Linked DNA regions of Homo sapiens: all the other regions are linked to region 3. Evidence: promoter capture Hi-C in human tissues and cell types (Jung and others, 2019). All regions are on one chromosome and are shown on one strand. Each heading gives the region's core, a stretch centred on a gene start or on the middle of the fragment in contact. The rest is flanking DNA. Distances are from core to core; before and after follow the strand shown. Region 1 overlaps BASP1 (brain abundant membrane attached signal protein 1). Region 2 has its middle 78 kb from the start of BASP1. Region 3 holds the start of ZNF622 (zinc finger protein 622).

What was found. The method cuts DNA at HindIII sites, captures the fragments that hold promoters and counts their contacts. A contact is called where the count stands out against the background at its distance.
Region 1: a contact is called between a fragment that was not itself captured here and the fragment with the promoter of ZNF622 in region 3, in 1 of the 25 tissues and cell types used here (dorsolateral prefrontal cortex).
Region 2: a contact is called between a fragment that was not itself captured here and the fragment with the promoter of ZNF622 in region 3, in 1 of the 25 tissues and cell types used here (lymphoblastoid cells).

The regions. Positions count from the first base shown.
Region 1 is chr5:17,256,443-17,260,271 of GRCh38, forward strand. All of the region lies in intron 1 of BASP1 (brain abundant membrane attached signal protein 1), which reads left to right. Among named protein-coding and RNA genes, the nearest start is that of BASP1, 41 kb to the left of the region's middle. The HindIII fragment of the contact is 4,658 bases long and covers 212-3,829 here.
Region 2 is chr5:17,293,764-17,297,507 of GRCh38, forward strand. No RefSeq gene overlaps it. Among named protein-coding and RNA genes, the nearest start is that of BASP1, 78 kb to the left of the region's middle. The HindIII fragment of the contact is 3,402 bases long and covers 514-3,744 here.
Region 3 is chr5:16,463,954-16,467,859 of GRCh38, forward strand. ZNF622 (zinc finger protein 622) reads right to left here and starts at 1,847. Exons shown (of 6, transcript NM_033414.3): 1 at 1,088-1,847. The coding sequence starts at 1,712. RefSeq lists enhancers at 1,155-1,224, 3,507-3,566, 3,597-3,686 and a silencer at 3,032-3,254. The HindIII fragment of the contact is 5,798 bases long and covers 1-3,906 here.

The sequences.
Region 1 (3,829 bases), core at 1,291-3,790, 790 kb after region 3:
GTTTGTGTCATTTCTCAAATAAATAAGTGAATTTGAGTGCTCAATAGAATCTAGTTGTGTGTATACATTATTACTGCACGTTTGTGCAAAAACTAAAAATTATAGACATAAAGGATACAATTCTAGTCATTTATATTACAAATGAAATAACCAACCCTGGGAGGTTAACAGTGGCTTGTTTAATGTCAGCAGCTAGTTTAGTGGCTGTAACGAGACTGAATCCCAAGTTGAACAGAAATCGTTTAAAAATTCAAGTTTTAAAAATCAAGTACAATGAATGATATTGGCTGCTTTTCTAAGGAGAGTGATTCTCTAAGCCTATAGGAAAAAAATACTGGTGGCTGACTTGTGGCCTTAATTGCATGCTAAGGTTGAGGAAGGATCTCCAGTAATTCTTTGCTTTACTTTGTGTTTGAATATAGGATTTTATAGCTGTGGGTGGAAAAAAAAATATTTCTAGGGAAAAGGTTTCCTGATAATTTAACTGAACCCCAAACAAGTGAACTGGGTGAAACAGAATATGGCACATGGTCCTTTATCACAACCTTTCTACCTAACCTAAAGCCAGTAAGATGGAAATAGTTTGGAAAAGACACTATCTGCTGAGGTTGCTTTAAATAGAGTCTCTCCTGGGACTTAGAACACATTTTGAGGCTCATTCTCCCTTTTGATAGTTTCTTGGAGACATTTTTCTGTATATACTGGATGCAGGCATTTGTATTCCTGGATGGCATTCATCTTTTACCAGTGTGAGGAGGCTGTTTTTATCATTGTGAGATTTATTAACATTTACTTGCTCTTAGAATCTACAGATTATATAACAGATATTGCAGGCTATAACCTAGAATTTAAATATTAAAAAGAGTGATTAAAAAACAAAACAAAAAGAGTGATTCTTTTTGTTATAATTGAATCAATTCCTATTGTTTACCTGTGTTGAATACAGTAATTGGTCCCACCGATCTTTTACTTAATCTTGAAATTCAGAGTTATTCTCTATTCTACATGAATGGAGCTGGGAAATGGTTTTAGGTAAATGAAGGTAAAATGTACTGAATACCTACTGTGTGTAGTGAGCTGAACTATATCCTTTACTGCAAATATTCCATTTAATGCTAACAACCACCTCCCCTTCTATTTTCTTCTGTAGGCAAAGGTTGAGTTCACTGAGGCTGACTCCCTGCCCCAGGTCACATAGCTGAACGTGGTCTCTCATCCCCTTGCCTATGTGCTTTTTTTCACAGAGTATATTGGATTGAGATCCAAAACTTATTGGCAAGCCATCAAAGTTCCGCTTGAACTAAAAGAGGAAAACCTGTTTTCTGAAATGTGAACTTTAATTACATAAAATGGAGGCTTCTGAAAACAGTATTGTCTCACAGGGCAGGCTATAAACCTTGAACAATGGAAGCTTCATGTTGTGTAAGAAAGGAGCTTACAGAGCCAAACAGCACCGTTCCTGTGTTTCCCCTGCCAGTGACAGGAGCATCTGGGGTAGCAAGGGGACTGCCCAGGGCCTGGTGTTATCATCAGGGGTTCTTGAAATTGCTCACACTGCTCTTGCTTTTCCATACAGGCTGCTTATATCTTGCCTCCTCTGGCTAAACTGTGGTACTAACAAGACGGCAGTTGGCTGCTGGGGAAATTCTGATAGGGAGAGTAGGTCTGGGTCATTCTAATTTATTTGTGGCTCTGGTAGCAAAGAGAACTCAAAGGCAGTATATCTCTATAGCTGATGAGATTTCACTGGGGCCGACACCACCTGTTCTGTGCACACTCACTTCTCGGTTAGACCTGGCTAGGTTTTCTGCTGTGCTTGTTTTTAGCTTTGTAACCAGCAGTAATCACATTGGTCTTTGGGATTTTCATGTTTCAGGTTTTACAGATGATGCAAAAGCATTAGTTTTCAAAGTCACTGCAAATGCTATGTATATGTATTTCTCAACATGCAGCCCCTGCACTACTTGTTTTGGTGTTACCTGGTCAACTTGGTAGAAAATAGATTCTTGGGACTCATGCTGAGCCCACTAATTAATTATCTTGGGAAAGAGATAACACTCCCCCCACCTATATTTTTAACAAGCTTCTCAGATGATTCCTGTTTACATAAATTTCACTCCCAATATTAGACACGTTATACAGAAACATTGGCAAATAAGAGGTTGAAGTGACTTTGTTCTGAGTCACATCATGAGTAAGGGGCAGTTGGTATTGAATTCTAGTTTGTGTTTCATCCCCAAGTCTGGGGATGAAATGCATCGTCTCTGGAATTCCATGGCTGGGGACAAATACCCTCTGTTATGTTTTTAAATGTCACAGCCCTCTGGGATTCACACCTTGGGTGTTGCCTTGTGGCTCAGTGCCTGGTTTTTTAGGTAGCTAAAGGGCTCAAATTTGAAGAAGGCAAAAGTGTGGAGCAGAAAGTGAGCATGGACAATTTGGGGTGAAGCATTTGCTTGAGAAATCTGGGGAGATACATTTGAATTTATAAGGAGGGACCAGATGACAAATGTCATTGAAAGTCACACTATGCTGTTTGAACTCAACATGGCAGTAGAATCTGGAAATGGCACACTGCATATGTATTAGTCCATTTTCATGCTGCTGATAAAGATAAACCCGAGACTGGGCAATTTACAAAAGAAAGAGGTTTATTGGACTTATAGTTCCACATGGCTAGGGAGGCCTCACAATCATGGGGGAAGGTGAAAGGCAAGGATGAGCAAGTCATGTCTTACATGGATGGTGGCAGGCAAAAAGAGAACTTGTGCAGGGAAACTCCTGTTTTTAAAACCATCAACTCTCGTGAGACTCATTCACCACCACAAAAACAGTGCAGGAAAGACCTGCCCCCATAATTTAATCACCTCCCACGGGGTTCCTCCCAGTACACACGGGAATTGTGGGAGTTACAATTCAAGATGAGATTTGGGTGGGGACACAGCCAAACCATATCAGCATAGTATTCATCTTTGGATTGAATACATTCTTTTATTAATTTGGCAAACATTTACCAAACCCCTGTTAGTGCTGAACATGACAAAGGAAAAAGCAAATTCTTTGTTTAGTATGTCAAGGACATACATAAAGGATTTTAGATGGTTTTCACTGAAAATCATTAAAATATGAAATAGCATTAGGACTGAAAATACTACATTTGCTGTTGGTGCCAAAAAAAATTGATACATGAAAATGTCAATATGTAAGAATTTTAGGTGGTCGTGAAAAGTGTGAACCAGCCCTTTATTTTTGGAGACAGGAACTACTGGAAATAAATTGCAGTTATTTCTGGAGTAGGCAGGCTTCCCCTCTTCTCCCTAATCACCAGCCTGTCTTTGTCAGGTGGCCACATTGATCGAGCCTGTCATGGCTCCAAGCCCATCATGGTCTGTCTAGTCCATTAAGAAGCAGCAGAAATATCTCAGCTGCTCTAAGTGTTTTCCTTGTGCCTTATTTTGAGCTCTGTTTGGAGAATTCTAAATTAGTTGTGGTGATATGATCTATTAGTTTCCTGGTCTATGGAAGAGAGAAATGGTACAGAAATGATCTCTGCAGTTTGCATTTCCTGAGCGGGTTGTGGTTCACTTACTCCCTTTATTGACCAAAAGAGCAGGTGATTCATGTAAAATCATATGTTAGGCTGCAATAACTGGGGCTTTTGAAAGGACCACCCGTTAAGTGCAAATAAATAACAATGTGAACACACAGCAGACTCTAAAAAGCATATTAGACTATTGACGAGAATGAATAATGCATGTTTCCTGATAGTGTTTGCTACATGTGGCAGGATGTATTAAAAAAGAAGAAAAAACCTTCTGCATTAGTGTCT
Region 2 (3,744 bases), core at 965-3,464, 830 kb after region 3:
CAGCCTGGCCAACACAGTGAAACATAATTTCTACCAAAACATACAAAAGTAAGCTGGGAGTGGTGGTGCACGCCTGTAGCTCCAGCTAGTCAGGAGGCTGAGGCAGGAGAATCGCTTGAACCTGGGAGGCAGAGGTTGCAGTGAGCCGAGATCGTGCCACTGCACTCCAGCCTGGGCGACAGAGTGAGATCCTGTCTCAAAAAAAAAAAAGTATTTCCAGGCTTTATACTTTGCTGTGTATATTTGAATAATGCTAGGCTTAAGTGGTGAAATGTTGAATGGATATTACTTGCCTCCAAAAAGAAAGCTAAATGACAGCTTTTGTATCTTTAGGTACTTTTAGAGTTGTTTTCTTTTTCCCAAAGAATGGTTGATAATTCCCTCTGTCTCCCTCTATTCACATAGGACTGAAATAGAAATAGGCTTAAATTAAGGCTGCACAACTTTTATTTGCTCCTAAGGGAGAACTTACAGAATGCTGGGGTATGCACGAATCTTCATCACTTTGAAAAGAGTTATATTTTCAAAGAGAATAAATTCTAATATAATCCCTGCCCTTGAAGAATAACCCAGATTCAGAGCAGAACCCACTGATTTAGATATAGAAGTTTGGATTACTGGACCTCACAAGGATGTGGCTCCATGTAAGAATGGGAAGATGGAACTGTCACTGTCCATTGCACAGACAGCCCCTGCTCAGTTCTCATCCTGTGAATCCTGCTGTATCTGCCTCTGGGAGCACTTTGTTCTCACATAAAGATTCATCTTTGCCCCCAGGATAGAGGATCATTCTTGATCTCAGAGAGTTTGAGGACCTAGGAAGCCCTAGTTCAACATTGAAGTTAATAATGGCATGGTGGGCCGGGTGCGGTGGCTCACGCCTGTAATCCCAGTACTTTGGGAGGCCGAGGTGGGTGTTTTGCTTGAGCTCAAAGTTTGAGACTGGCCTGGGCAACATGGCAAAACCCCATCTCTACAAAAAATGCACTGGGCATGGTGGTGTATGCCTGTAGTACCAGTTACTCGGGGGGCTGAGGCAGGAGAATCACTTGAACCTTGGAGGCGGAGGTTGCAGTGAGCCGAGATCTTGCCACTACACTCCAGCCTGGGCAATACAGTGAGACCCTTTCTAAAAAAAAAAAAAATTATGAGACTGTGGCCTTAGTCCTGAGGCACAGTCCACCCTTACACCCCACTTAGGGTAGGAGGATCAGAATCATATTCCAGAACATAAGCTCTCCCAAACCATGCTCCTCCAAAATGCAGGCCTCACTGAGATCTTCTCAGTCTTCTAGATTAGGAAGCTTCAACCCGTTGCCAGTGACAGAAGCCCAGCCAGCAGCCTACACAGGTTTCCCAAATTCTCTGCAGAGGCTGCCCCTGTGGAGGAATCTCTGAATTTCCCCTCTTCCTGGATCTCCTGTCCCCTTTACCTGTATAGATGATTCTGTAATTGTTATTCCATTTTTTTTTCTTTTTTTCTTTTTGAGACGGAGTCTCGCTCTGTAGCCCAGGCTGGAGTGCAACCTCTCAGCTCACTGCAACCTCTACTTCCCGGGTTCACACCATTCTCCTGCCTCAGCCTCCTGCAGAGTCTTGCTCTGTCGCCCAGGCTGGAGTGCAGTGGCATGATCTCTGCTCAGTGCAACCTCCGCCTCCTGGGTTCAAGCAATTCTCCAGCCTCAGCCTCCCGAGTAGCTGGGACTGCAGACATGCACCACCATGCCTGGCTAATTTTTTGTATTTTAGTAGAGACGGGGTTTTACCATGTTGGCCAGGATGGTCTCCACTTCCTGACCTTGTGATCCGCCCTCCTCAGCCTCCCAAACTACTGGGATTACAGGCATGAGCCACTGTACCTGGCCTGTTATTCCATCTTACACATCCTAAAATTGGGGCCATTTGTTTGGACTGGAAGAAATTTGCCAAATTCTCTGAAAAAAGGGTTTCACTGCCAGACTTGGCTCTGTCCTTGAGCTGGCAGGAGTCAGGGTGCTCTGAGATGCCCCCTCTTTAAGGTGCAGTTCTGTTTTGGAGCTCAACTCTCCCAGTCTGATCTTCCCACTGTAGTGTGTCTGACTCTGCCTGACAACATCCTGAGATGAGCCACGGGTGCGGGGGAGCAGATGTTCCTTGATGCTTCTGGTGTTCAGTGATGCTGTCACTCATTAGAAGAACTGTGTCCTAAAATTTTGAGATGAAGATGTTATTGAAAGTTTTGGGAGACTGGGCACGGTGGCTGAGCTTGTCTTCTTCACACACCATTAAACATCTCCAGAAATGATCATAGAGTACCTGTGTTTGACCATAGGCTATGTTAACTCTCTGTGAGGAAAAAAGGATTCTTTTGTGAAATACAGATATAGTCATGAAACTATCATTGGGCATTCACAGTTCATTTTACAAAAATATTTTTGGCATTTTAGACACTTTTTAGTTCCTTAAAAAAAAAGTTATGACCATTCCCATAACTCTCAGGTGGGAATCCTTCTTCTGTCAACAGTATGAAGAGGAGGTGATTAAAACATCATCTTTCATTTGATGATGCTTTACGTCTCATTATCCTGGTGCCCTTTTCTGTGGAATAATTGGGATGGGAGAAATCAATTTGAAGGCAAATTTACAATACACTGTGAACATGTGACCATCCCTACAAGTTTTCTGGTGGTGAAATTTTAGGCAGTGTAATTGTTGGATGAGAGAGATCTTTCTGGGAAGTGGACATCCTCCAGCCCCACTGCAAAGATGATTGTCTTTTTTGCCAGATGGTAAGGCTTGTCCTAAATACCTACTCCTTGGGCTGATATCACAGAGGAGATAAACTGACCTGAATATAAAATATAAAGCCTTTAAGAAAAGGCCAGAAGTGTTCTTAGGAAAATGACCTGAGATGGTTAATTTTATGTGTCAACTGGAATGGGCTAAGGGAGGCCCAGATATCTGGTAGAACATTATTTCTGGGTGTGTCTGTGGTGGTGTTTCTGGAAGAGGTTAGCATGTGAATTGGTGAACTGAGCAAAGAAGATGTCCCTCCCCAATGTGAGTGGGCACCATCCAATCCATTGAGGAGCTGGATAGAGCAAAAAGGCAGAGACGAAGGATGAGTTTGCTTCTGTTTGGGCTATACATCCATCTTCTCTTGCCTTTGGATTTGGGTCTTCTGGTTCTTAGGCATTTGGACTTGGACTGAATTATGCCACTGGCTTTCTTGGTTCTCCAACTTGCAGACAATGGATCATGGGACTTCTTGGCCAATTTCTAGAATAAATCTCTCTCTCGTTCTCTGTGCTTTTGTATCTATATCTATATGTAAATAGAGTCATGCATCACTTAATGATGGAGATACATTGTCAGAATTGCATTTTTAGGGAATTTTGTTGTTGTGTGAGTATATATATACATATATATTTATATTTTTACTTGGAAAACCGGATGTCTCAGCACCATTACTGAATATCAGTCAATTCCCCTACTTGATTTGCAATGCCAATGTCAAGTGCCAAATATCAGATTTCTATATGTGCTTTATTACAATCTGATGAGCCCACCATTGTATATGCAGTTAATTATTGTATGTGCACAGTTAACTGGAACATTGTTATGCAGTGCATGACTGTATATATATATGTCCTATCGTGTGTGTGTATATATATATACATTATGTGTGTATATATATATACATTATGTGTGTATATATATATGTATGTCCTATTGTGTGTGTGTGTGTATATATATATATATATA
Region 3 (3,906 bases), core at 597-3,096:
CAGGAAACAGGAATCTTTTCTTTGTTTCTTTCCTATGCCTTACAGCACCTAGCCCAGTGCTGAAAATATAGTTAGGAAGTCTCCTACCTGCCTGGATATTTTTATAAACTTCTAAAACAATGCCTCTATCTACTATTTCACAAAAGTACTATGGGGTGTGTGTATGTGCTGGTAGGGTGCTCTATGAACGGCTATGGTTTGAATGCATGTTTCCCTCCCAAAATTCAAATGTTGAAACTTAATCATCAATGAAATGGCATTAAGAGGTGGGGCCTTTAGTGGGTGATTAGGTTAGGCAAGCACTAATCCTGAATAAATGGATTAGTGCGAGGGAACTGGCTAGCCCCTTTTTTGCCTTCTGCTTCTTCCACCACATGATGACACCATGAGAAAACTTCATCTATAGAACAGGCCCTCACCAGACACTGACTCTGCCAGCACCTTGATTTTGGACTTCCCAATTTCCAGAACTATGGGAAAATACATTTATGTTGTTCATAAATCACCCAGTCTCTAGTACTTCCTTATAGCAGAGTGGACAGACTAAGACATGAACACCTACACCAGCACTGTTAATAGGATGTGGGATGAGGGAAGTAAGGAATAAATAGCTCATAAAGGCAAAGAGGTGAGGGTGCTGGCTCCAGCTCCAAATTTCTGGCTGAGTTGGTTTTGATCCCCTCATTCTGTTTTACTCAACTAAATTAAGTGCAAAACCATCATAACTGGAAACCCACTAGAATCGCAAATTACACGGCAGCTGGTATGACGATAGCATGTCCTCCTGTGCATATGTTAAAAGCCTCTTCATCCAAAACACAGAAGGCATCAATTCATTCTCCAAATATGCATTAAGCACTTCTTTTTCCAGACAAGGTTTTAGGCCTTGGAGAATGAATTGAGTGAACTAAACAGCCAAACCTGCTGGCCAGATAAGGCACTTCAGAAAGCGTCTAAACCACCTTCCCTCATCATTTTTACTTAAAAGCTCTCAAACACACACACACACCCATCTCGAGTATAAATCTGGAAACTTAAGGGTGGGCCAAGTTCCTCTTTACCCTCCCCGCCCAGACAGGGCCATCACCGTCTCCATCCAGGTCCTCTTCCTCCTCCTCGCTGTCCTCCTCCTGCTGCTTTGCCAACTTCTTCGCCTGCTGTTCAAACCACTGGAGCCGGGGTGGTTTCTCACTCGGGTCTCGGTCGTGGGTCCCACGGCCACCAGTACCCACGGCCACGACATTCCTGGCCTCCTTTGCAGGCGCTGGGGGCGCCTTCTTGGGAGACATGGACGGCTGGGCCTTGATGGCCTGCTGGATGGCCGCGTTCATGGCATCCTTGTCCACACTGTCCACGCCCAGTCCTTTCTCCAAGTTCTTTTCATTCATCATCTCCACTTTCCGATTCACTGCCTGCACGGCCTTCTTCTCCAGCTCAACGTGACGCCGGGACTTGAGGTGGTTCTCGTAGGCGTTGAAAGAGGCAAACTTCTTACTGCAAACGGTGCAGTAGGTGGCCGAGCCCTTGCTCTCCTCCTCCGCGACGGCCCGCTGCGCCCGCACTCGCTCCTGGAAGCCCTCGGCGGTCACTGGGGCCATGCTGGCCACCTTCCGCCGCAGGTTGTAGCGGTGCCAGTCCGTCTTATAGTGGGCCCGCTGCATGTCCGCGTCGCGGAACGCCACCCGGCAAGTTATGCAGGTGTACGTCGCCATTGCCAGGCGAGAAATAAGAACCGACCAAGCCAAACACCTGGTGATCAGCGCCGTGGCCCCACAAGACCCTCAGACCTTAACCCGCCTCAGCAGCCAGGAAGAGCCACTCGACACGCCGACTTCCTGATTGTCACTGAGGAAACTTCCGGCACACGTCGGAAGTTATTCACAACTGGACAGGAAACCCGCCTCTCAGGCTGTGGCCACGCCTCCGCCGCCGTGAGGCCCAGGAAGCCGAGGGAACGCTGTGGCTGAAAGGGACCTGGGTCCGCTCAGTCAGCCCGAGGTGGCTGTTGATTGAGGGAGGTCGCGCCCTCCCAGTTACCTTCCCTGGTGGTTGTGCCGCTCGGTGTGACGCGGTCAAGGGGACGGCTACGCGAGAATGGGGGAGTGGGGCGCCCGAGGCTGCTCCTGGGCCCTGGGAAGCCCCCGATTAATGAATGGTCGGGTCAGCGACGCGAGGGTCGGGGTTTCTCTGAGGACCGCGCGCTGCACCTGCGGAGCCGGGTGAATGGATGTCGCGAAGGCAAGGGCTGCCCTTACCCCTCGGGGCCGACCTCGGAGCCCTCGCCCGTGGTTGCAACGCTTTCCCGGGAAACCGGAGAAGCCAGGCCGGGGGCTCGGCCTTTCTGAGGCGGCCCTTCCGGCGGAGGACACCGGCGGAATTTGAGTGCACAGAGTGCGCGAGAGGAGCTCCCTGTAGACACACAGTCCAAGCCACGTAGGTAATTCTAATAGCAGCCACATTTTTAAAGAGTAAAGAGAAATCGGTGAAACTGCTTTTAATGTGTTTAATTTAGCCCATCCTGTCATTTCAGCATGTAATCAGTCTAAAAGAATTAATTAGATCTTTTACGCTCTGTCGTTGGTTCTAAGTCTTGGAAATCCAGTGTGTGTTTTAGAGTTAACAGCCCATCTCAATTTGGACTAGACCCGTGCCAGGTGCCCAGTTGGCTGTGTACCCTCATGTATATAGGACAGCAAAGTTCTGTAGAAAAGAACTTCAGGCCAGGCGCGGTGGCTCACGCCCGTAATCCCAGCACTTTGCGAGGCCGAGGCGGGCGGATCATCTGAGGTCAGGGGTTCAAGACCAGCCTGGCCAACATGGCGAAACCCAGTCTCTGCTAAAAAATACAAAAATTAGTCCCGGCGCAGTGGCGCAGACCTGTAATCCCAGCTACTTGGGAGGTTGAGGCAGGAGAATCGCTTGAACCCGGGAGGCGGAGGTTGTGGTGAGCCGAGATCGCGCCACTGCACTCCAGCCTGGGCAACAGAGCAAGATTCCATCTCAAAAGAAAAAGAAAACATGAACTTCAAATGCTTGGGGAGGTCGTAGATTTCATCCACACAGCCTGGTTGAACCAGAGTCAGCCTTGTTAGAGTCGAATGTTGCATGCTCAGAATCCAGGCTGCCAAGAGAAAACCAAAAGAAGATGGCGCTTTAAAAAACCTTCCAGTGCCTTCCCTTGACTCAATCAAATTCAAACACCTTACTTTCTATTCTCCGAGGCTCTACCCCTCCCTCTGAGGTCCTGCCACACCCCCTTCTCTACCCTGCTCACCCTACTTGAGTCGCAATGACACATTTGATGTTCTTCTAACAAGCACTTTAGTTGGTACTAAGTCAGAAAGTCAGAAATCCATTACTCTTCTGCTTGGAACATCCTTTTGCTGGCTTGCTTCCTTATTTTTTGGATCTCTGCCCAAATGCCTTTGTAAGAGAGGCTTATCCAAATCCACTTACCAAAAATAGTGCCTACCTTCCTAAGTCCTTACCAGGCATAACTTTTCTCCAGTACTGTATTAGTTATCTACTACTCTGTATTAAATTACCCCCAAATTTAGCATCAAGCTTTATTTCAGTTTCTGTATGTCAGGTATTTGAGTGACTCAGCTGGGTGGTTCTGACTAAGATCTCCTAAGAGGTTGCAGTGAACATGCTGTCCAGGGCTAAAATCATCTGAAGATCTGACTGTATTTGACTGTGGCTGGAGAGTCTCCCTTAAAGATGGTTCATTTACATAGCTGATAGCAAGAGGTTTTGGTTCCTTGACAAGTAGGCCTCTCCATAGGGCTGCTTGAGTGCAGCAGAGAGCCACATGAAATTCATAGACCTAGCATTGGAAGTCACACAGTCGTTTCCACAATGTGTTGTTACTTTTGCAGGTCAGCCCTATTTAATGTGAGAAGGGTT